Linked DNA regions of Homo sapiens: regions 2, 3, 4, 5, 6 and 7 are each linked to region 1. Evidence: promoter capture Hi-C in 16 types of primary human blood cells and fetal thymus (Javierre and others, 2016). All regions are on one chromosome and are shown on one strand. Each heading gives the region's core, a stretch centred on a gene start or on the middle of the fragment in contact. The rest is flanking DNA. Distances are from core to core; before and after follow the strand shown.

Evidence for each region. Contacts are between HindIII fragments. The CHiCAGO score rates a contact against its expected background, and 5 or more counts as called.
Region 2: a fragment that was not itself captured here is called in contact with the fragment with the promoter of MEGF9 in region 1 in 4 of 17 cell types (total CD4 T cells, non-activated CD4 T cells, activated CD4 T cells and 1 more); the score reaches 5.8 in total CD4 T cells.
Region 3: a contact is called between a fragment that was not itself captured here and the fragment with the promoter of MEGF9 in region 1, in 11 of 17 cell types (monocytes, naive CD8 T cells, total CD8 T cells and 8 more). The highest score is 12.8, in monocytes.
Region 4: a contact is called between a fragment that was not itself captured here and the fragment with the promoter of MEGF9 in region 1, in 6 of 17 cell types (total CD8 T cells, naive CD8 T cells, monocytes and 3 more). The highest score is 7.6, in total CD8 T cells.
Region 5: a contact is called between a fragment that was not itself captured here and the fragment with the promoter of MEGF9 in region 1, in 6 of 17 cell types (monocytes, naive CD4 T cells, total CD8 T cells and 3 more). The highest score is 12.5, in monocytes.
Region 6: a fragment that was not itself captured here is called in contact with the fragment with the promoter of MEGF9 in region 1 in 6 of 17 cell types (total CD4 T cells, total CD8 T cells, monocytes and 3 more); the score reaches 7.2 in total CD4 T cells.
Region 7: a fragment that was not itself captured here is called in contact with the fragment with the promoter of MEGF9 in region 1 in 8 of 17 cell types (monocytes, naive CD8 T cells, naive CD4 T cells and 5 more); the score reaches 8.0 in monocytes.

Annotation. Positions count from the first base shown.
Region 1 is chr9:120,712,821-120,715,980 of GRCh38, forward strand. It overlaps MEGF9 (multiple EGF like domains 9), which reads right to left and starts at 1,650. Exons shown (of 6, transcript NM_001080497.3): 1 at 938-1,650. The coding sequence starts at 1,538. RefSeq lists a silencer at 1,338-2,187. The HindIII fragment of the contact is 2,825 bases long and covers 1-2,385 here.
Region 2 is chr9:121,216,548-121,219,707 of GRCh38, forward strand. It overlaps a transcript of GSN not described here. Among named protein-coding and RNA genes, the nearest start is that of RAB14, 16 kb to the left of the region's middle. The HindIII fragment of the contact is 416 bases long and covers 1,367-1,782 here.
Region 3 is chr9:121,194,611-121,197,770 of GRCh38, forward strand. The region is part of intron 1 of RAB14 (RAB14, member RAS oncogene family); the gene reads right to left. Among named protein-coding and RNA genes, the nearest start is that of RAB14, 5.7 kb to the right of the region's middle. The HindIII fragment of the contact is 3,446 bases long and covers 1-3,160 here.
Region 4 is chr9:121,173,763-121,176,922 of GRCh38, forward strand. CNTRL (centriolin) reads left to right here. Exons shown (of 44, transcript NM_007018.6): 43 at 1,256-1,462. It also overlaps the pseudogene LOC124902357. Among named protein-coding and RNA genes, the nearest start is that of RAB14, 27 kb to the right of the region's middle. The HindIII fragment of the contact is 2,652 bases long and covers 115-2,766 here.
Region 5 is chr9:121,155,910-121,159,069 of GRCh38, forward strand. It overlaps CNTRL (centriolin), which reads left to right. Exons shown (of 44, transcript NM_007018.6): 28 at 1,561-1,691; 29 at 1,831-1,971; 30 at 2,074-2,200; 31 at 2,946-3,110. Among named protein-coding and RNA genes, the nearest start is that of RAB14, 44 kb to the right of the region's middle. The HindIII fragment of the contact is 9,656 bases long and covers 1-3,160 here.
Region 6 is chr9:121,127,239-121,130,398 of GRCh38, forward strand. All of the region lies in intron 14 of CNTRL (centriolin), which reads left to right. Among named protein-coding and RNA genes, the nearest start is that of CNTRL, 54 kb to the left of the region's middle. The HindIII fragment of the contact is 2,498 bases long and covers 268-2,765 here.
Region 7 is chr9:121,094,564-121,097,723 of GRCh38, forward strand. It overlaps CNTRL (centriolin), which reads left to right. Exons shown (of 44, transcript NM_007018.6): 5 at 325-455; 6 at 1,859-2,000. Among named protein-coding and RNA genes, the nearest start is that of CNTRL, 21 kb to the left of the region's middle. The HindIII fragment of the contact is 686 bases long and covers 1,211-1,896 here.

The DNA.
Region 1 (3,160 bases), core at 400-2,899:
TCTGACAAAGTAGGCTTTTGTTTTGTTTTGTTTTAGTCCTAGGCCCACTTAAGATTTAAACGGGGAAAGAATACGAGTTGTCTTTAACTTTGCTTGAAGACTTCAGCAAGAAAAGCCTTTTCTACGTGGGCTCAAACAGAAATTGGCATATATCAGCATCAGCAAAGTTGAACATCCTGGCTTAAGGAGACAAAAATAGGCATCCTTGCTTAAATGGTGTATTTGGCCAAACATGTTGACCTTATAATTGTGGAAGAAAAAAATGGTGCGAGGAAGAGATTTAACCTAATTTGTAAATGTGCTCAGCCTAGATACACACCTGTCCCAAATGACCTACTGAATCCACTTATTTGCAGGGACAACATGGATTACAATGCCTTTTTTGTTTTTATTTTTTGCCCTCAAGTGGTCCATACTACTGTTTGTAAACAAAATCCTCTCACTACCTCTCTTCCACCTGTCATACACACACATCTGATATTTACATAAACAAGAAGAAATGAACAGGGAAACTGGAGCTTTGGGAGGAATTCCTTACCCTCAGCTTTTGACCCAGTGGTTGAAGGAGGTACTATGCGGGCTTTCAAACTTCCCCAAATAACCCAGGCAGAGAGGCTGGGTGCGCGAACCCAACCCAAAAGTTTGCGCCCATTCTGGTCTCTGAAAAAGGCCAGAAAGCCCTGTTGGGAAGAAGATGAGATGCCTTCCACCCAGCAGCCACCCCCTCCCGAGGGAGCACAGCCCACGGGGGACAAAAGACTTTCCAGATTGATCGGGGGCGGGAGGGAGACTAGCTGGACCTGGGATCCCCCCTCGGGAGCCGGAACCTGGGGTGTCTTTGGGGTAACAAACGATAAATTATAGGCAAGAGCCCAACCCTAGATTGCCGGGGCTGAGGTGAGGACGGGTCCTGCCCGAGAGGGAGCGCCGGACTCACCTGGAGGAGGCGAAGAGGGGGCCTCGGTGGCAGGTGGGGTGGGGAGGACGCTGCTGTTGCTGCTGCTGGGGAGATCGGGGGTCGGGGTCCGGGGAGTCGTGGGCGCCGGTACGGTGGTCGCTACAGGGGTGGTCGGCGCCGGGCCAGTGGTCGTCGAAAGGGTGGTCGGCGCGGGTCTGGTCGGCGCCTGAGAGGTGGTCGAAGTGCGTTCCGCCGCCGGAGGGGTGGTCGGCGAGGGGCCGAGCGGCGCCTGAAAGGTGGTGGAAGAGGGTCCAGCAGTCGCCCAAAGAGGGGTGGTCTCCGGGGACTGGGCTGGAGAAGTCGCAGCCAGGGGTCGGTGGACGGTGGCGCGCGGGGGCCCGGTCCTCGGGGCCTGGGCCGTGGGAGCCGTCGCCCTAGGGAAGGGGTGGCTGGGCTCGCCCCGCAACCCGGGGCCCGGCGACGCGTCCACCTGCCCCGCGGCCCCGCCGCCACCGGTGACATTCCCCGCCGAGGCGGCTGAGGCGACGGCGGCGGCGGCGGCGGCGGCGGCGCAGCACAACAGGGCGAGGCCGCCCAGGCTCGGCAGGCTCCTCATGGCGCGCTCGGCTCCGCCATTCATTCATTCAGCCAGTCGGTTGGTCAGTCATCTTCTCCTCGTTGCAATCCGACCAAGGAAGCCTCCGCAACCGCCGCCGCCACCGCCACCGGGCGCACCATCGCCACCTCCCTCTGACAGGCGGCCGGCCCCGCGGGCGGGCCCCAGCGCGGAGGGAGCGACCGGACCGAGCGCGGACCGCCCGCCCTCCTCGATTGGCAGCCGCGCCTAACCAATGGGAAGCCACAGTCGCCCACGTGATCCGCCCGCTTCCCGGCCTCTTTGTAGCCCCGTAGGCCAATCAGAGGACGTCCAGGAGAGGGGGCGGTCCGTGAGGCGGGAGAAGGGTGGTGCGAGCCCAGCTCTAGCCCGCCGGGCTCGCGGCGGCCCCGGCTTTGTCTGCCCAAAGAGTGGGGCGCGGGCCTCGGGCACCGGGCGCCGCGGAGCAGACAAAGGATGCGCCCCGCGCGGCAGACGCCGGGCCTAGTCATCTGCTCCACCGGGCTGCGAGCACGAGCGGGGGGTGGAATCAGCACTCGGGAGCATCCCCGCCCTCCTGAACAATGGGGCGCCAGCGCCGCACCCCAGCTCGGGCGGGGACCGCGCGGGAACCCCGCGATGGGAGAGGGCAGCGGCAGCGACGATGTAGAGCTTGGCATGCCCTCTGCTGCTCCAGAGAGCCTGGTCGCAGCCTTGCGAGGTCTCTGCCGCCATTCCCATTTCAGAGATGGGGAAGCTGAGGCCCTTGCTGAGGGCCTCCCTGAACCGAGACCCACGCCCTCACCAGAAACCTGCTGTGGGCCAGGTGTTGTGCCAGACTGGACAAGGGGGCGGGACCGGGCGGTGGAGACCCCTGAGGGCAGAAGGTGCAAGCTTCCTGCGTGGAGGAGACAGGCTCGCAAGCACACTTACCTAAACCCCGGGAAGAATAGGATCAGACAGGGTTGAACCTCAACTTGATGTCTTTTGCTGAATGGTTTTGTGGCCTGAGCGCGGTTTTTTCACCACTAAAATGGAGATGATAGGACACCCCTCACCCCCCACCCCCCTCACAGAGCTGTTGTGAGAATTAAGTCATGGACGTAAAGGGCTTAGCCCAGAGCCTGGCCCACTGTTGTAACCCTCATTAATGCTAACTATTCTCAGCATTTGCGCCAGGGCAAGCCCAGGATTAGAAAGCAGCCCCAGGCCACAGCCCTTCAGTGCCCCCAGAGCCTCCGGCTGGTTGCAGGGGTTGGGGTGGGGCTAATAGCCGAGCTTGACCCTGGATGACACTAAACCCTGAATCAAGCTGGAATTCGGGCACGCAGCCTCGCATCATCCGCCCAGGATCCAGAGCTAGGTCAGGCGCTGCTGCTTCGGCTCAGCAGCTTCCAGAGGAAGCCAGGCAGGGCGGGTTTGTCATCTGATGGGGCTTAATTCAAGCCCCACTGCTAACCCAATCCCGGCCTCCCCTACGTGATGTTTGGCTTTGTGCATGGTTTCCCATTAGTCATTGGTCTTCAACCAGACCAGCAGGATGAGATTTATGTGTGAACCCGTGTATGTTAATTAAAGCATGCATTTATTTTCCTGCATGAGTAGTGGGTGGGGGAGGCTGTGTATGAATGCATAAACATGTTTGTGAGTCTGTGTGTATGAGTGTT
Region 2 (3,160 bases), core at 325-2,824, 500 kb after region 1:
TGTTTCTTATCCTTCATGGCCCAGCTCAAAAGCCACTTCCTCTGTGATGCCTGCCAGGCCTTGTAATATCCTCCTACCCCCAGGTTCCGTAGTACCTTGCTTCTGTATTTTGCAGGACTTCTCCCTGTTTTCTTGGTATTATAGTGAGATTATTCTATTACCCACTTCTCCCACTAGGCTAGGAGTTCCTGGAAGACAGGAATTTTACCTTGGTCATTGTATTAGTTTGCTAGGACTGCCGTAACAAATAGTACAGGCTCAGTGGCTTAAACAACAGAAAATTATTTTATTCTGGAGGCTACAAGTCCAAGATCAAGATGTCCAAGCGTTGCATTCTTCTGAGGGTTGGTTTCTTCCTTGGCTTGTGGATGACTGTCTTCTTCCTGTGTCTTCACATGGTCTTCCCTCTGTTTGTGTCTGCATCCTAATTTCCTCTTCTTTTTTTAGTTCTGGGTTTTGTCTTCCACTTTATTTAGATTTTTAAAGTATTTTTCTAACTTAAGGAGATTTCTTTTTTAAAATTCAACTTTGGCTGGGCACATTGGCTCACGCCTATAATCCCAGCACTTTGTGAGGCCAAGGCGGGTGGATCACAAGGTCAGGGTGGATCACGAGACCAGCCTGGCCAACATGGTGAAACCCTGTTTCTACTAAAAATACAAAAAAAAATTAGCTGGGTGTGGTGGTGGGCACCTGTAATCCCAGCTACTCAGGAGGCTGAGGCAGGAGAATCATTTGAACCTGGGAGGCGGAGATTGCAGTGAGCCAAGATCGCACCATTGCACTCCAGCCTGGGCAACAGGGCAAAACTCCGTCTCAAAAAAAAAAAAAATAACTTTTATTTTAAGTTCAGGAGTACCTGTGCAGATTTGTTACAGAAGCAAACTTCTGTCCTGGGGGTTTGTTGTACAGATTATTTTGTCACCCAGGTATTAAGCCTAGTACCCATTAGTTCTTTTTCCTGAGCCACTCCCTCCTCCCAACCTAAACCCTCCAATAGGCCCCTAATCTCCTTTTCTTATAAAGATACCATTCATATTGGATTAGGGCCCACCCTAGTGACCTCATTTTAATTTAATTACCTCATTAAAGACCCTGTCTCTAAATACAGTCACATTCTGAGGTACTGGGGGTTAGGACTTCAATTCAATTGGGATGTGGCTGAGTGGCACAATTCAGCCCACAACAGCCATTTCTTTAAATTTTTTAAATTTAATTAAATTTTTAAATATTTCAAATAATATAGAAATGTATTATTATTATTATTATTATTATTATTATTATTATTATAACCTCAAACAAAACAAGCCCTCCTTTCTCTGCTCTTTTCTACCCAACCGTTAATACTGCTACCAGGTCTGTTTCAAGCTTTTGCGTATATAAGGGTACATACATAAAGATATAACTTTGGTGTGTGTTTTCTCTTTTACATAAGTACGATCAAATTGTCCATATTGTTTTGCATATCCTGATCTTATTCATTCTTTTTATGTATGTGTCCAGTCTACCTCATGCCCTGACTCACAGTTTAGCTATGACTAAGCATGTTCAGAACATTTGTTGAGCTCTTAAGAAGGGTGGTCATGGAGTATAGGTCTGCTATGAATTGTCTGGCAGTCATTTAATATTGTATTATATTTTAGGTCTGTCAACCTGAAATAAACAGCAGAGAGACCAGTTCTCCAAAACAAAGAGTTTATTTGAGAATAACAGGGAATTGCGATTTTGGGTGCACATGCTGTGGTGGACCACAGGTGCACCAAAGGGGATGGGGCAAGAGGAAGCTTTTAAGAGAAAGGACGAGAGGCCAGGCTCGGTGGCTCATGCCTGTAATCCCAGTGCTTTGGGAGGCTGAGGCAGGTGGATCACTGGAGGTCAGGGGTTCAAGACCAGCCTGGCCAATATGGCAAAACCCTGTAACTACTAAAAATACAAAAATGAACCAGGCATCATGACGTGTACCCATAATTGCAGCTACTCAGGAGGCTGAGTCACGAGAATCACTTGAACTCGGGAGGCGGAGGTTGCAGTAAGCCGATAACGCACCACTGCACTCCAGCCTAGGTAACAGAGTGAGTCTCTGTCTCAAAAAAAATAAAGAAAGGAGGAAACGTACATGTAAGCTAATTTGAAAAAAAGACCATTGGTTACAGGAGCTTGTTGCAGGAGTTGGCATTAGCTTATTGGTGGAGACAGCCACTGTTGGACAAATGTCCCTGTGCAAGCCAGGTGGCTTATGTGGAATTTCTTGGATAGTTTCTGTTGTAGGCATACATGCATGAGGACCCTTCCTTCATGGCCTCCCCTCTCCATTTTGTGAGAGTTTAGCCTAAGTGACTCCATTTTGGTACTGGCAACTTTCACAAGTTTCATTTTTCTTGTATGTAAAATGGAGGACAATAATATTCATCTCCCAGGGTCCTGAAATGATCTGGTATTTGGAGGTTACCCTACCAGTTTTGTCCAAGCATCCATCCTGCATGACACCTGAAGTCCAATATCTTTATTCAGTTTCACTTCCTTGATGTTTCTCAGAGTCCTGAGGATGCTTCCTTGATGGACAGATCCACCTGGTGGGGGCCAACTCCTCTGGCCGGGCAGTTCTGCCAGGGCTCTGTGTCTGCTGCTGCTGCGCTTGCTGCTTCTCTTTACCCGGTCTCCTGACTCAGTTCCCCAAAACACACCAAATACCAGAAGGTTCAAGTTAGGGGATTTTTTTTTTTTTTTTTTAAATAGAGACTAGTCTCACCATGTTGCCCAGGCTGGTCTTGAACTCCTAGGCTCAAGTGATCCTCCTGCCTTGGCTTCCCAAGGTGTGGGATTACAGAGGGGAGCCACAGCACACCACCAAGTTAAGGGATTTTTACCAAAGCCTTCCTGATAGCATTGAGACAGGAATGATACAGCGTTGACACAGGAGAACAGCACATTCCAGGCAGCAGTTTTATATGACTAGCAAAAGGGAACTGTTTAAACAGCTGCAGAAGCTAGGGGCTGAGAAGACCCTGAAAAACCAGGGTGTGGGTCAAGCTGGCTAAGACCAACTAGACCCAACATGGCGCTGGATTTGACTTAGGTCTCACCTAGGACCTCATTATATGCTCATTAACATAGTCAATCACACACCCACCAGTGCCAGGACAGATCCTGGAACACCCAT
Region 3 (3,160 bases), core at 198-2,697, 480 kb after region 1:
CCCATTTAAAAAAATCTGACTTACAGTATTTTTAAGCCTGGCTTTTAGTGTTTCTGTCAATGTCACATTACACAAGCCAGACATTTAATATGACTGGAGAAATTTATTTACTGAAATTATCACCTTACTATATACCATATTTCAAGCAAAAGTTCTATATAACAACATTGAACCCGTAGAAAGAATATATATTTAAAACAAGTGTATTATTATAAGGGAAGAGGAAGTTGTTAATTACAGTAAAGTATTAATCACTTCCACACACTACAGTCTTCTCACTTAGCTATCTGTATTACATTTAGTGAAAGTAGAAGCCTTGTTACCCATTCCAGTTTGGCATGTTCTAACACATTTATAATCAGTCTCCTGCATCACAGAAAACTCCCTTAACCAGTTCTTTCAGGAAAGGGAGTTTTTCTAGTTAGATTAACTGATTCTGAACATCACAACAACTTTATTCCCTTTTCCAGGCACTAGGAACTCAAAACTTTTAAGAATGAACTTGGTCCTGAGACTAAAACTGGTCTGGATTATTTACCTGATCTCTGAACCAGATGCCAAACACAAGGGGGAAAAGTAATCTCTTACATTAAAAATATTTAAAGATTATTAACTTCTTAACTTGAATTCTTCCGACTCTTCTAATCAATTTTTAATTCTTCTAAATTCTTTCCCCATTCAAACCTGGGTAAAAGTAATCACTTAGTCACCTTCAAATTACTGTCTCTTCTGTGCTCTTCTCCCTTGATTTTCCTAATTTCTTTCCCTCTTCTAACTAAAGGTTGTAGCTGTACATACTTTGCTCCTTCTATTTTATGTTAAAGCTATGACTTCTAACAATCCCAAATTTCTACTTCAAATGCTTTAAAGACTATCATAAAATTGTGACCCAATTTTAGTTGTACTAATTTGTGTACCTGCTAATTATCATACATTCATTAAATGTGAGATAACTAATTTTGAAAATGTATCTTAAAATTACAAACATTCATATAGTAGAAACTATTTCCAAATAAAAGAAATGATCACTATTTCGGATTTAATACCAGGGCTCTGTCTCACCACACCACACATTTTTCTTGCTCGTTTCTTTAAAAATTACAAATAAAAACCATAAAAGCAGAATTAAAGGAAAACTACTCAAACTTACTAATTTCAGTAAACAAAGGCAGAAAACATTTAACACTGTAGCCACCAACACTCACAACAGGTCTTCCCTTTCTTATTCTAAGAAGATACTGTCTAGATTTAAATATATTCCCATAGTTGACTGATATTAATACATTTCAGTCAAAAGTATTTGCAGTAGAATTATATTCAATACTAAATAGGCTTAATGTTGCTTTAACAAAAGATTTCTCAGTCTCATTTCTTGAACATGAAACATACTATTGTTAAGGTGAGGAATATATTTTTACCTAACTTTGGAAGGGAAAAAATTCTTCCCCTATTATTTAACAGTACTTTTGCTTTACTTAGAGAACTCTTGAGTCTAAAAAAAAGGACAGGAAATGCTGGTCTGGTTCAAACTCTGAAAACATGAGCCCACTTAACATTACAATCCCCATAAATGAAAAAAAAAATCCTGGTAATATTCTATAACTTGTATACAACTACCGGGACAATTAAAATTCACTTTATTCCACATTTTACAGAAAGTATTCGAATCAAGTTCATATGTAAGTAAAAGATCTTTATTGCCTTTAAAGGAAAAAAAGTACCACATATTTAGACAACAGGCATTTAACACATAATCAACAATTTGCAAACTAATAAGAAATACAATTGTGAGTTACTATTTATTGGGTACTTGACATATGCCGGGCAATGTGCTAAATATTTTACATACAATTTCATTTAATCCTTACTACTATCCTATAACATAGTTAATTATTATCCTCATTTTACAGATGAGGACACAGACTCAAGAGGTAACATGCCCAGGTCACACAGCCAAGTCTGTACTGAACCTAGGACTGTTTTAACTACAGAGATCCCCTCTTAACCACCACACCATCCTGCCCTCTCCACCGTCGTGCCTCCTCCACATGGTTATCAGCTGTACCATGTAGCTCTGCAGTATTCACTCGCTTAATTATAATTTAATATTCTGAATAAGATACATGAATTACATTCAGAGGATGCACTGCAGTCAGAATTTATAGATATAAATGACTGGTAATACTAGTAATACTAACTTATAATACTATAATTCATTTACTTAGAAAAAGTTTCTTGAGAACACTTGAGAGTAAACCATGTAATGATCTATACTACTTTTTATAATTCTTACTTAATTCTCACAACTCTGCAGAGTCATTATCATTATGTCCATGCAAAAAATTAAAGAAACTGAGGTTTGGAGAAATTCACTCATTTGGCCAATGTTATAAAGTTTGTAAATGGTAGACCTAGAACTTGAACCCAGGCCTGATTCCAAAGACCATGATTTTCTCTAAGGTATTATTAGCTTATTTCAGGTATGTACAGGTAGACTGATAAAATAAAAATCAGAGAAAGAGGAAGGATATTAGTGCATGTAAAATTTAGCTATAAACTACCCTTGCTGCCAAGAGAAATATTTACTAAATGCATAGTAAACACTAACAACTGTGCCATGTATTCAACTGACTCCTTAAAAATATTAATATGCTTAATATTGCTTTAATAAAGGATTTCTCAACCTCATCTCCTGAACATGAAACATACCAGTTTTCACCACTGGGGAAACATACCATTTCACCACTGTGAAAATATACCATTTTTCACCACCATTTTCACCACTGTTAAGGTGAAAAATGTATTTTAAAATGGGGTACGCCATCTTGTAAAATTCTGCATATTTCTTTTACTCAACAAAATGATAGACACATTTTCATGTCAGTACATTTAGATCTAAGTGGTTACTGAACAAATATTAAACACTAATTATTGTTGTGACAAAAATAGAATGCATGGTTTCTATTTACTGAATCAGACACCTTTCTAAGATTACACAGACATATAAACGACTAGTTTTGAAACATGTAGGTACAGATGTGAAGGTATACACTTTCATACATACTGCTTGTGGAAATGTGCCAACATTTTGGAAAGTAATCAGTATGTTTAAAAATCTTAACAATAATCCAAATCATCCTTTGGCCCAGAAAGTATCCTA
Region 4 (3,160 bases), core at 191-2,690, 460 kb after region 1:
TCAGTATGAGATACTGGGCACATTGGGGAGGGGAGGGGAAAGTTACATTTACCTGATGCTTTCACATCCATGCTGTTGCAGCCCTGCCAGCAGTGTCAGGGATGGCATGTCTGAAGCTTCGAGGAGTTGGTGTCACACAGTAAATGGCAATCAGTGTTCAAAACCATGACTTCTTGTGTTGACTCCAGTGTTCTTTAACCTATGTAATGCTGCTTTACCTCAGCTAGAACCGATAGAATCTAAGTATTTGGGAGAGGAAGTAGAAACACAGTGATGAACTGTAAGGTTATCATAGGCCAGTGGTGGCAGGAAAGATTTGGGATACTGGAAAAGTAGGCTGAATGTCAGGTAAGGAATTGTTTGGCTCAGAACATGTTGACTTTGAAGGCCTTGTGAGATATCCAGGGAAGGATATCTGTCTGTAGGCAGCCAAAAATAGGAGTCTAGGATTACTGATCAGTGTTGACCTAAAGATTTGAGAGTTAAGAGTATAGGTGGGAGGTTACATTTATGTGGGGGGAATGGCTATGTAGACAGCATGGGATGAGAGAGTGCAGTGCTATAGTATTGAGTGGAGCCCTGTGATGTCCAACAATAGTCTCCAGCCATGTGTGGTTATTTAAATTTTAATAAATTATAATTAAGTTAAAAATTCAGTTATTCATTTGCCACATTTCAAGTGCTTAATAGCCACATGTGTCTAGTGGCTTCTATATTTATAGCCAGAGGTAGAACATTCCCATCATTGCAGAAAGTTCTGTTGGACAGCGCTGCTATAGACTTTGAGAGAATAATTTGATTATAGCAGGGGCAAAAGCCAAAAAGTAGTATGAAGTTGAGGATTAAATACCTAATCATTTATAGACAAGAAACTAAGACTTAGGAAAAAATACATAATCAGGAGACACTCCAGTTGTCAAGTATAAACTGATCTTCTCAGTCATAACAGAAAAGGAAAAAAGAGATGAGGCAATAATTTAATGGAGAAGCAAGGGATACAGAAATCCTAAGCACTGCTAGCATGGAAAAACTGGGCCAAGTGAAAGACCCCGTTAATGACAACACAGAAAAGTAAAGGTTTATGCACACTAAGTATCCACCTGGCACCTCCTACAATTCTTTTTAAAGATGAGCATTTTTGACAGCCATTCCTACTGTTAGCCAGATTTGCCTATCAAATGTATGTGAGGAAGCTGAGCGGCAGTTCTGGTACATTTCTTCTGTGTAAAACCCTAAGTCTTATCACACTTTTCAGGCCCAACTCCGACACTGTATGTCCAAGCAAGCAGAAGTATTAATTAAAGGAAAGCGGCAGACAGAGGGCACTTTACACAGTTTGAGGAGACAAGTAGATGCTTTAGGGGAATTGGTCACCAGCACCTCTGCAGATTCAGCGTCATCACCCAGTCTGTCTCAGCTGGAGTCTTCCCTCACAGAGGACTCTCAACTTGGACAAAATCAGGTAAGCAGCAGCTCTTTTTAAAAACAAAACAATAGCCTGAGGTTGTTTTTTGTCTTTTTTGAGACAAGGTCTTGCCCTACCGCCCAGGCTGGAGTGCATTGGTACCATCACAGCTCACTGCAGCCTTGACCTCCCAGGCTCAAGTGATCCTCCCACCTCAGCCTCCCATGTAGCTGGGACTACAGGCACACACCACTTGGCTTGGCCACTTTTTAAAATTTTTTGTAGAGATGGAGGTCTTGCTGGGTTGCCAGGGCTGGTCTCAAACTCCTGGGCTCAAGCGATCCTCCTGCCTCGGCCTCCCAAAATGCTGGGATTACAGGCGTGAGCCACCACGCTGAGCCAAGAGGAAACTCGTAAGATAGGATTTAATATATTACATAGAAAGTACTTAAAAGCCGTGGGGTGTATAATCTAGAGGAGATTCAGAAAAATATAGATTATGCCGCCTTCAACTCTCTGAAAAACTTGTCTTAGCAAAGACTTGGTAGAGGTAGATAAGCTGATGGCTTAGGAAACAGACTACGACTGCAGATTGGATGACCTGGCAGGGATATAGTTAATTCTACTATTCATGTCCTCCACTTCTGGATTTATTTATTTCCTACTCTGTCAATATAAAGAGCTTAGACCTGTGAGGCCAATATGAGTCCTAGTTTAGTATGTCTCCCTGCATTTTGTAACTTACATTTACAGAGTTGGAATTCAGACCTCTTAACCTAAGGTCTATAAAAACCCTGAATTTCACAAAGGTTTTCTGTGTGAGCTTAGATAAGGTTAATAAGCATTTAAGAGGAACATGAAATATACTCATGGAACTGGTAAGTAGTAGCACACACAACTGTCAGAGATAGGTAACAGCTTCCATTTTCCAGTGCCTATTGTGTGCACATACAAAACTTTATATATATCATCTAATTTTTACATCCTTGGAGGTAGGACTTATCCTTTTATATAGATAAGGAATCTGTACAAAATGATAAATGATTTGGTCAAGGACATAGCAAAGGACAACAGCAGGACTTGCGGGCTAATCTATCTTTACCACAGAGCAGTATATTTTAATGGTGGAGCCACAAGGAGCTTTCAAGGACAGTTGCCTCTTTAATGTGCCCAAGGTGGGCAAGTGACTTACCTAGTTCACACAGCTAATTAGCAGCAGGGCCATTAGCAGCAGGGCCATCTGAATATGATTATCTTAACACCATCTGTGGTGGACCCAGTCAGGTAAAGGCCAAAATCATCATGGGCCTTAGGGCAGGGTTCGAGGAGGAGTGTGAGAGGCACTGGGCATTGAATAGGGAAGCTTTGGGGATGAGACAGCCCAGAGTAGTGAGAGAAGAGTAGAGTGCACAAGGGCTTAAAAGCCAGCTTCAATTACCAGCTCAAGGTGGCAGCCAGAGTTATTTAGTTGCTTTAAAGGCAACCAACGCACAGTGGGTAGGGGCGAGATTGGTAGAATTATTTAGAAGTCTGGGGTTGTAATCCAGGCCTATATGGGATAAAAGCCTGAACTAGTTAAAAGTTAGGGGGCTGGCTTCTGAGCGTAACATTTTATTTCCCTTTTTTTCTGGTAAGAACAGATACTACACTTGATCTTAGTCAAAAGGCTGAGAGCTCCTTCCAGCAAGTTCTGCAAGGTCCATCAGAACCACTAGACAGTTACTGACACTGATGCCATCCCTGCTCACAGGATAG
Region 5 (3,160 bases), core at 304-2,803, 440 kb after region 1:
TGCTATTTCAACATGAATCTATTTAAATTAAAAGCAGTCTATTACCTAGGAACTAAATTATTTATTAAAGAAATTCTGTGAGTAATTAAGAATGGAAAAAGTCCTTTTCAGATGAGCTGTTCCTTCTGTTGTCATATGTTGGATTACTGTGAGAGAAAATAGATGTGAGCAGAACTAGAGGAAAAAAAATCACTGGTATAATAATATATAATAAGATATTTTGATAATATATCAAAATATCACTGGTATATTTTGATTATAAATTTTGGTATATTTTGGTTATATATTAATATATATAGGTATAGATATATAAAATCATCAAAAGAAAATTGATGGCAGTGGTAGTAGGCAGAGGTAGTAAGTCAACCAAGGCTGGTAAGTTCTTTCACCTTCATCCTCCCAAAATGACTCAGGGAGGCAGCTTGGTAAGAAGGAGGAGGAGAGAGAAAGTAGTGGTGTTTTGGAAGGAGTGTGCCAGACATGTTAAAACCTGACATAGAAGGAGACAAAAAACTATTTGGTGGCTTTTCTGGAATGCATAGCCAGTTTTATCCAGTGCTTTGCTGGTGAAACTGACAGAAACAAGCTATCTGAAATGGAAAGACGTATGGTAAAATATGTAGCTCTCTGGGAGCTTGCCAACCCTTTTGCATCCACACAGATATTTAATAGGCAAATTTAACATACGGACTCCTCTGGCTTTAGTACAATGGCAGACTTCAGTTTTTTTTGGCTGAAGGTGAGTCACTGCTCAACCAAGTGCAAACCACACTCTATTTATTTTTGGAACTTTTGATGTCATTGTTTTAAGCATCTTATGTTAGGCAGAAAAAGAAACCAAGTTGATTAAAACAAATGTGTTTTTACCAAATCTTATATAGGAAGATTTTAAACATTTGCAAAGTATTTAATGTTTGTGTTTGTCAGCCGTAATTACATTATCACCAGATCAATGCATTTTTACTTCGCTTGATAATAACTATAGAGTGCAGCAAGAATTTCTGTGTGGAGGAAATCTTGGTAAAATCACTTCCTTCCCACTTAGTTGGGTAGATAGTTTTAATATTTAAAATGATATAATAGTATTACAGATTATTTTGAAATAAAAAGCATCTTTAGTTCCACTACTTTCAAATGACTGTATTTATTTTTATATAGTCTTTCTGTCTTTGTTGACACATGTAGTTTTACACAGTTGCTCTCACAGTGCTTATACCATTTTAAATTTATTTTTCTCAGCCAACATAATATTAACATTCTTCCGTGTTGCTACATTGTCATCTGATCATTTGAAAGGCTACACAGTATTCCACTTTGTTAATGCATTATCACTTAGCCTATTATTATTTGTCAGGTCTTATATTATTATACATTGAGCATTTTTATATAGTAGTTCTTTGCTTCTGAATTATTTACCGAGAATTAGAGTTACAGTGAATGGACATTTTTATGTCTTTCTGTACCATCTTGTTTTCCAAAAGAGCTGTACTGGTTTACATGGCCAGTAGCTGTGAGTGAGTATTGTAACTGAATGGCTTTTAATGACAGTTTCTTTTCTAGACAAAAAATGCTGTTGAAAAGTTCACTGATGCCAAGAGAAGTTTATTGCAAACTGAGTCAGATGCTGAGGAATTAGAAAGGAGAGCTCAGGAAACTGCTGTTAACCTCGTCAAAGCTGATCAGCAGCTAAGGTAGGTGGATTCCCTAAGCCGTTGATGTATACATTGAGATGAATGAAAAGTTTGCTTCTAAGGGGATAATAATTGGTTTATGATAAATAATGCATGGTAAGTCTACAGGACCTGGGGGGAATAAAGCAATGTGCTTTAGATCGCTCCAGGCTGATGCAAAGGATTTGGAGCAGCACAAAATCAAGCAAGAAGAAATCTTGAAAGAAATAAACAAAATTGTAGCAGCAAAAGACTCAGACTTCCAATGTTTAAGCAAGAAGAAGGAAAAACTGACAGAAGAGTAAGTAAGGCCTCTGTAGGGCTACAAGGGGTTTGTGCTGGAAGACAGCTCTGGGGTTCCGAGTCCCTTAGGATCTGCTCTAGTGTTGCTGGTGCTTTGTAGGCTTCAGAAACTACAGAAAGACATAGAGATGGCAGAACGCAATGAGGATCACCACCTGCAGGTCCTTAAAGAATCTGAGGTGCTTCTTCAGGCCAAAAGAGCCGAGCTGGAAAAGCTGAAAAGCCAGGTATGGCAATAGACACCTTGAAAAAACAACTGACACAGCACTTTATGATTATAAAAGTAATACATGTTTAATTGTAGAAAAGAATAAATGCGGCTATGTATTATAGTTGTTAAGCATGAAGTCTGAACTAAATTTGAATCCCAACTCAATACAATACTTCTGAATAAAAAAAGTGGGTCTCAAAACATGGTATACTCTATGAGATCATTTCTGTTAAATGCCTTTATCAACACTTATGGTTGTATTTTTAGTCAATACCAAAGTACAAAAGTGGTCATCTGATAAGGGGGGATTTTGAGTATTTTCTGTTGTCTTCCTTTTGCATATCTGCATGGTCTTCTTTTTTTTTTGTAAACAAATACGTATTGTCTTTAAAATTGCAACGAATTTTTAATTTTAAAAATGAATACATTTTAAAAATCTCTGACTAACTTCCATCACCAAGGATGTCAAAATGGAATTAGGGTATAAAAATAAAAGTTCTTGGAAAACTGTAACCTGAGGGATGATCATGATTATCATATTGTTGTTCTTACTGTGATCACTGTGATTTGAGTGGTTTTAAGTATGTGAGCTCAAGGTTTTCATTAGGCATTTCACCCTTGCACTCCTTGCCTGGCTTTTCTGACTCTTGGGGGCTAGGATATTAGCTCCTGATTTTACCTCACAACTAAATTATCTCCAGGTTAGCACTGAGGGCTGTATGGCCTTTGTCAAACTTACTCTTCCCTTTTCTTTAATACAGGTGACAAGTCAGCAGCAGGAGATGGCTGTCTTGGACAGGCAGTTAGGGCATAAAAAGGAGGAGCTGCATCTACTCCAAGGAAGCATGGTCCAGGCAAAAGCTGACCTCCAGGAAGCTCTGAGACTGGGAGAGACTGAAGTAACTGAGAAGTGCAATCACATTAGGGTGTGTTTTTTATTAGGGTTTTCTGAAGAGTCGTAGGACAGTGCTATAGG
Region 6 (3,160 bases), core at 267-2,766, 410 kb after region 1:
TTGGGGTGCATTTAGGTGATTTCCAGTGTTATGCTATTGCAAACAATGCTGAGCATAACATTCCTGCACACATCTTGAACACATGGGGACTATGCTCAGAAGCAGAACTGTGGGTCAGAGTATGTCCATCCTTCATTAAGTTCAGTAGATATTGTCAAATTACTTTTCATAGTGAGTTTATCAGCTTCTACTCCCACCAGCAATGTGGGGGCTACCATTCTTGCCACATCCTTGCCAACGCTGTAGTGTTGTCCAACTTTTTTTTAAAGCTTATATTTTGAAATAACTCCAAACTTGCAGGAAAGTTGCAAGAGGAATACAAATAACTCACATTTGCCTTTCACCGAGAGTCACCAATTACTATTTTAACACATTTGCTTTATCTCCTCATATGTAATTTCTACATGATTTTATATACTTTTTAATTATTATTATACTTTAAGTTCTAGGGTACATGCAGATTTGTTACATAGGTATACATGTTTCACGTTGGTTTGCTGCACCCATTAACTCGTCATTTACATTAGGTATATCTCCTAATGCTATCCCTCCCCCCTCCCCCCACCCCACGACAGGCCCCGGTGTGTGATGTTCCCTGCCCTGTGTCCAAGTGTTCTCATTATTCAGTTCCTACCTATGAGTGAGAACATGCGGTGTTTGGTTTTCTGTCCTTGTGATAGTTTGCAAAGAATGATGGTTTCCAGCTGCATCCATGTCCCTGCAAAGGACATGAACTCATCCTTTTTTATGGCTGCATAGTATTCCATGGTTTATATGTGCTGCATTTTCTTAATCCAGTCTATCGTTGATGGACATTTGGGTTGGTTCCAAGTTTTTGCTATTATGAATAGTGCCGCAATAAACACATGTGTGCATGTGTCTTTATAGTAGCATGATTTATAATCCTTTGGGTATATACCCAGTAATGGGATCGCTGGGTCAAATGGTATTTCTAGTTCTAGATCCTTGAGGAATCGCCACATTGTCTTCCACAAAGGTTGAACTAGTTTACACTCCCACCAACAGTGTAAAAGCATTCCTGTTTCTCCACATCCTCTCCAGCATCTGTTGTTTCCTGACTTTTTAATGATCACCATTCTAACTGGTGTGAAATGGTATCTCATTGTGGTTTTGATTTGCATTTCTCTGATGGCCAGTGATGATGAGCATTTTTTCATGTGTCTGTTGGCTGCATAAATGTCTTCTTTTGAGAAATGTCTATTCGTATCCTTTGCCCCCTTTTTGATGGGGTTGTTTTTTTCTTGTAAATTTGTTTAAGTTCTTTGTAGATTCTGGATATTAGCCCTTTGTCAGATGAGCAGATTGCAAAAATTTTCTCCCATTCTGTAGGTTGCCTGTTCACTCTGATGGTAGTTTCTTTTGCTGTGCAGAAGCTCTTTGGTTTAATTAGATCCCATTTGTCTATTTTGGCTTTTGTTGCCATTGCTTTTGGTGTTTTAGTCATGAAGTCCTTGCCCATGCCTATGTCCTGAATAGTATTGCCTAGGTTTTCTTCTAGGATTTTTATGGTTTTAGGTCTAACATGTAAGTCTTTAATCTATCTTGAATTAATTTTTGTATAAGGTGTAAGGAAGAGATCCAGTTTCAGCTTTCTACATATGGCTAGCCAGTTTTCCCAGCACCATTTATTAGTGATCCTTTCCCCATTTCTTGTTTTTGTCAGGTTTGTCAAAGATCAGATGGTTGTAGATGTGTGGTGTTATTTATTTCTGCAGTCTCTGTTCTGTTCCATTGGTCTATATATCTGTTTTGGTACCAGTACCATGTTGTTTTGTTTACTGTAGCCTTGTAGTATAGTTTAAAGTCAGGTAGCGTGATGCCTCCAGCTTTGTTCTTTTTGCTTAGGATTGTCTTGGCAATGCAGGCTCTTTTTTGGTTCCATATGAACTTTAAAGTAGTTTTTTCGAACTCTGTGAAGAAAGTCATTGGTAGCTTGATGGGAATGGCATTGAATCTATAAATTACCTTGGGCAGTATGGCCATTTTCACGGTATTGATTCTTCCTACCCATGAGCATGGAATGTTCTTCCATTTGTTTGTGTCCTCTTTTATTTTGTTGAGCTGTGGTTTGTAGTTCTTGAAGACGTCCTTCACATCCCTTGTAAGTTGGATTCCTAGGTATTTTACTCTCTTTGTAGCAATTGTGAATGGGAGTTCACTCACGATTTGGCTCTCTGTCTATTATTGGTGTATAGGAATGCATGTGATTTTTGCACATTGATTTTTGTATCCTGAGACTTTGCTGAAGTTGCATATCAGCTTAAGGAGATTTTGGCTGAGACGATGGGGTTTTCTAAATATACAATCATGTCATCTGCAAACTGAGACAATTTGACTTCCTCTTTTCCTAATTGAATACCCTTTATTTCTTTCTCTTTTCTGATTGCCCTGGCCGGAACTTCCAACACTATGTTGAATAGGAGTGGTGAGAGAGGGCATCCCTGTCTTGTGCCAGTTTTCAAAGGGAATGCTTCCAGTTTTTGCCCATTCAGTATGATATTGGCTGTGGGTTTGTCATAAATAGCTCTTATTATTTTGAGATACGTGCCATCAATACCTAGTTTATTGACAGTTTTTAGCATGAAGGGCAATTGAAGTTTGTTGAAGGCCTTTTCTGCATCTATTGAGATATCATGTGGTTTTTGTCATTAGTTCTGTTTATGTGATGGATTATGTTTATTGATTTGTGTATGTTGAACCAGCCTTGCATCCCAGGGATGAAGCCGACTTGATCGTGGTGGATAAGCTTTTTGATGTGCTGCTGGATTCGGTTTGCCAGTATTTTATTGAGGATTTTCACATCGATATTCATCAGGGATATTGGTCTAAAATTCTCTTTTTTTGTTGTGTCTCTGCCAGGCTTTGGTATCAGGATGATGCTGGCCTCATAAAATGAGTTAGGATTCCCTCTTTTTCTATTCATTGGAAGAGTTTCAGAAGGAATGGTACCAGCTCCTCTTTGTACCTCTGGTAGAATTCAGCTGTGAATCCATCTGGTCCTGGAGTTTTTTTGGTTGGTAGGCTATTAATTATTGCCTCAATTTCAGATCCTGTTATTGGTCTATTCAGAGATTCAACTTCTTCCTGGTTTAGTCTTGGGAGGGTGTATGTGTCCAGGAATTTATCCATTTCTTCTAGA
Region 7 (3,160 bases), core at 304-2,803, 380 kb after region 1:
AGAAAGGAGGGGAATGAGAGGGAGAGGTATGGCAAAAGTGAGGTAGAGGGAATGACAGTGAGGGAAATCTTGTTGGATAGTCTTGAGCTTCTTAGTATATAGACAATGTTGTTGTCAACTGAAGGGCAAAGAGAGTTTGGTAGCTTGAGTAGAGTTATTACTCCTAGTCAAGGAGAGCTGCATCAAGGGATTCTCCAGGAGAGCAGTAAGGGTATATTATTTTCTGATGACTGATCAAACAGACCCTGATGCACATAAGTAAATGTTGTACTTTATGTCAAGTCATCTGTTGTGTAAAGTATTCATTCATTTGTTTCCAATTAGTATATTGAGAATTTGGAAAAATGTGTTAAACTTGAAGTACTGAATCTCAGCTATAATCTAATAGGGAAGATTGAAAAGTTGGACAAGCTGTTAAAATTACGTGAACTCAACTTATCATATAACAAAATCAGGTGAGTTATATAACAAAATCTTTAGGCAGCATTGCAGATAGCTTTGTTAGAGAGGTAGATTAATGTTATCCACATTACTGAAAGAATGATTTGACAGAAACAGAAGATATTTTTATCTTTATTCATCAATCAAATGAATGTCTGTCTCTTCACATATGGTAGGTAACTGTCTTTATGTTTTGGCATTACTGAAGTACAGAATAACATCTAGCATTATCAAAGAGATATATTTTTGAGCACCAAATTGTATCTTAATTTCATTTCTGACAGGAAGTTTTCCCAGATATTGTCTGTGATTTATTACCTTATTACATTAAGAATGTTGACATGAAGCAGAATGTTTTAACCCTGCCATTTTGACCCCCAAGATGTTCTAATCTGTTTTGATTCTGATGTTCTTTGCTTATTGCTACAAGAAATATGCTCTCAATCCTGTTTCCAATTCATAATATATATTACTGTGAGAAATAAACATACTAAAACTGACACTGGCTAAAACTTCATATAGAAAACTTGTTATAGACAAAATGATACAAGAATCAAATCTTGAAATTCTTAATATCTGCATGCTTTTCCCCCAAGTTAGACTTGGTAAATATGATGGCCAAGAAAATGACTAGCAATGGCAGAAGTTCTGATATGACAAAACTGAAATGAAAAAAAATGATTAATGAACCAAACCCTTATTATAAAATTTGTATAAAAAGTTGACTCTGATGAAAATATTTTCAGCAAAATAAAATTGAAAGTAGAGAAGCTTAGAAATATTTACCCAGTGTAGATAGAGGCTTTGAAGTATTTGTGCAGTATAGAAAATTGACCAAAGAATTAAATTGACAAATAAATTAGAAGTGACTTGGGAAAAACCTTCATCAATCAGAATTCATTAATATGTGTGATAAATGCTTTATTTAAAAGTTCTGGTTAAATTACTTATATTCCTAAATACAGTATCATCTATGGGCTCCCATATCCTGCTGGCATAGCTAATCTTTTTATGATAACTTAAGACAATAATTAGGAACATCTTTTGGACAGGAATGTAGCAGATAGGACAGGGTGCTATTGAGTTTCCCAGGTCTCCACTGGCTGTTTGCTAGTACTGTTCACAGTAGTCGGTGAGAATGCCATGGTCACATTTTTCTTTTCTATGTTATGGAGTTGCAAAGTCTAATAATAAGATTGATAGGATTCCTGGGCATAGTAATAAAAAGTTGGCAGTTTAGCTGTTCTGGTAAATTTGGCTTTAGCCACTTTTCTTTGTTCTCATTTATGAAAAGAGTTGATAAATTATCATTATGAAAAGTAATCTAACATGGAGCTAAAGCTGTTTATTCTAAAAATACAATGGAGAGACTCTATAATTGTACTCACTAAATTTTATTTTATCCTTTGCTTTCCAGCAAAATTGAAGGCATAGAAAATATGTGTAATCTGCAAAAGCTTAACCTTGCAGGAAATGAAATTGAGCATATTCCAGTATGGTTAGGGAAGAAGTTAAAATCTTTGCGAGTCCTCAATTTGAAAGGCAACAAGATATCATCGGTAAGTTATTCAAAATAGCAGGAATTTTTAGACTTGTTAAAAAATAAAAGATTAAAAATATCTAAGTTTTTTAAAAATGGGATTTCTTCTTTTAAAGATTTTGCTCCTTTGACTAAACACTAGATTCAGACATAGCCCATGATTTTCTAGATTAATTAAATACAAGCAGTCCTCATTTTGCATGGGTTCCTAGGTCAACCTAGGGTTGACCTCTTAGCATTTTTACATTTATCATTTCATGTAAGCCTCATAACATTCTTGTTAAGAAGGCAGTACAAGGATTATTTTTGTAACACTATGAGTTAGGTAGTAGCAAGTAAGGTCTAGGACAGGTTAAGTCCCTTATCTAGAGTCACATTTTGTGCCAGGATCCAGATCACTGAATGCCTAGAAGAAAGTTCTGGGTTTTTTTTTTTTTGACAGTATTAACTTCCAATTTCAAATTTACCAGTTTATTTTGATTATAATGTTAGGTGTTATAGGAGGTTGATCACTAGCTTTTCATAATAGAGCAACTTTGTTATGATTTACATATTTGGATGATGTTGTATATTTTTCTCTGGAATATAGTTTATGATTTTCTTATGGTATTTATTCACAGCTAGGTATTTAATAAGCATTTGCTTAGTAAATTTGTTAATTTATTTAAATTTGTATTAAAATTGGGAAAATTGTGCCATAATTTAATGAACATCAGTTGTAGAATAGAAAATGAAAGATGTGACTTCAAAGATGGGCCTCTATAGAATTGCCTTCCATGACCTTGGAGAATTCTTTAATCCCTCTAAAACCACTGTTTGGGGAAAACAATCCCTATACTGCCTCCTTTACAGGGGTATTATGGGGGCTCAGATGAAATGATAGATGTGAAAATGCTTTAAAAAAAACTTTAAAACACTAAATAAGTCTAAAGCTATATTCTTTAAGCCTTCACCAGTGGAGGCCAATAATAATAAGCAATATTCATTTAATGCCATGTTGTTAACAATACCTATGCTTTCTAATTTCATCCTGTGACAGTCAAGAGCCTCAGAGCCCAAGCCCAACCCCATGTTGTACAGCATCACCTTGGGGCTGTTGATGCTATGGGATGATGGGAAGAGGTAGCCATAGATCTAAAATTTGCCATAAATATTCCTGAAGTAGTTGATCCTTAGATA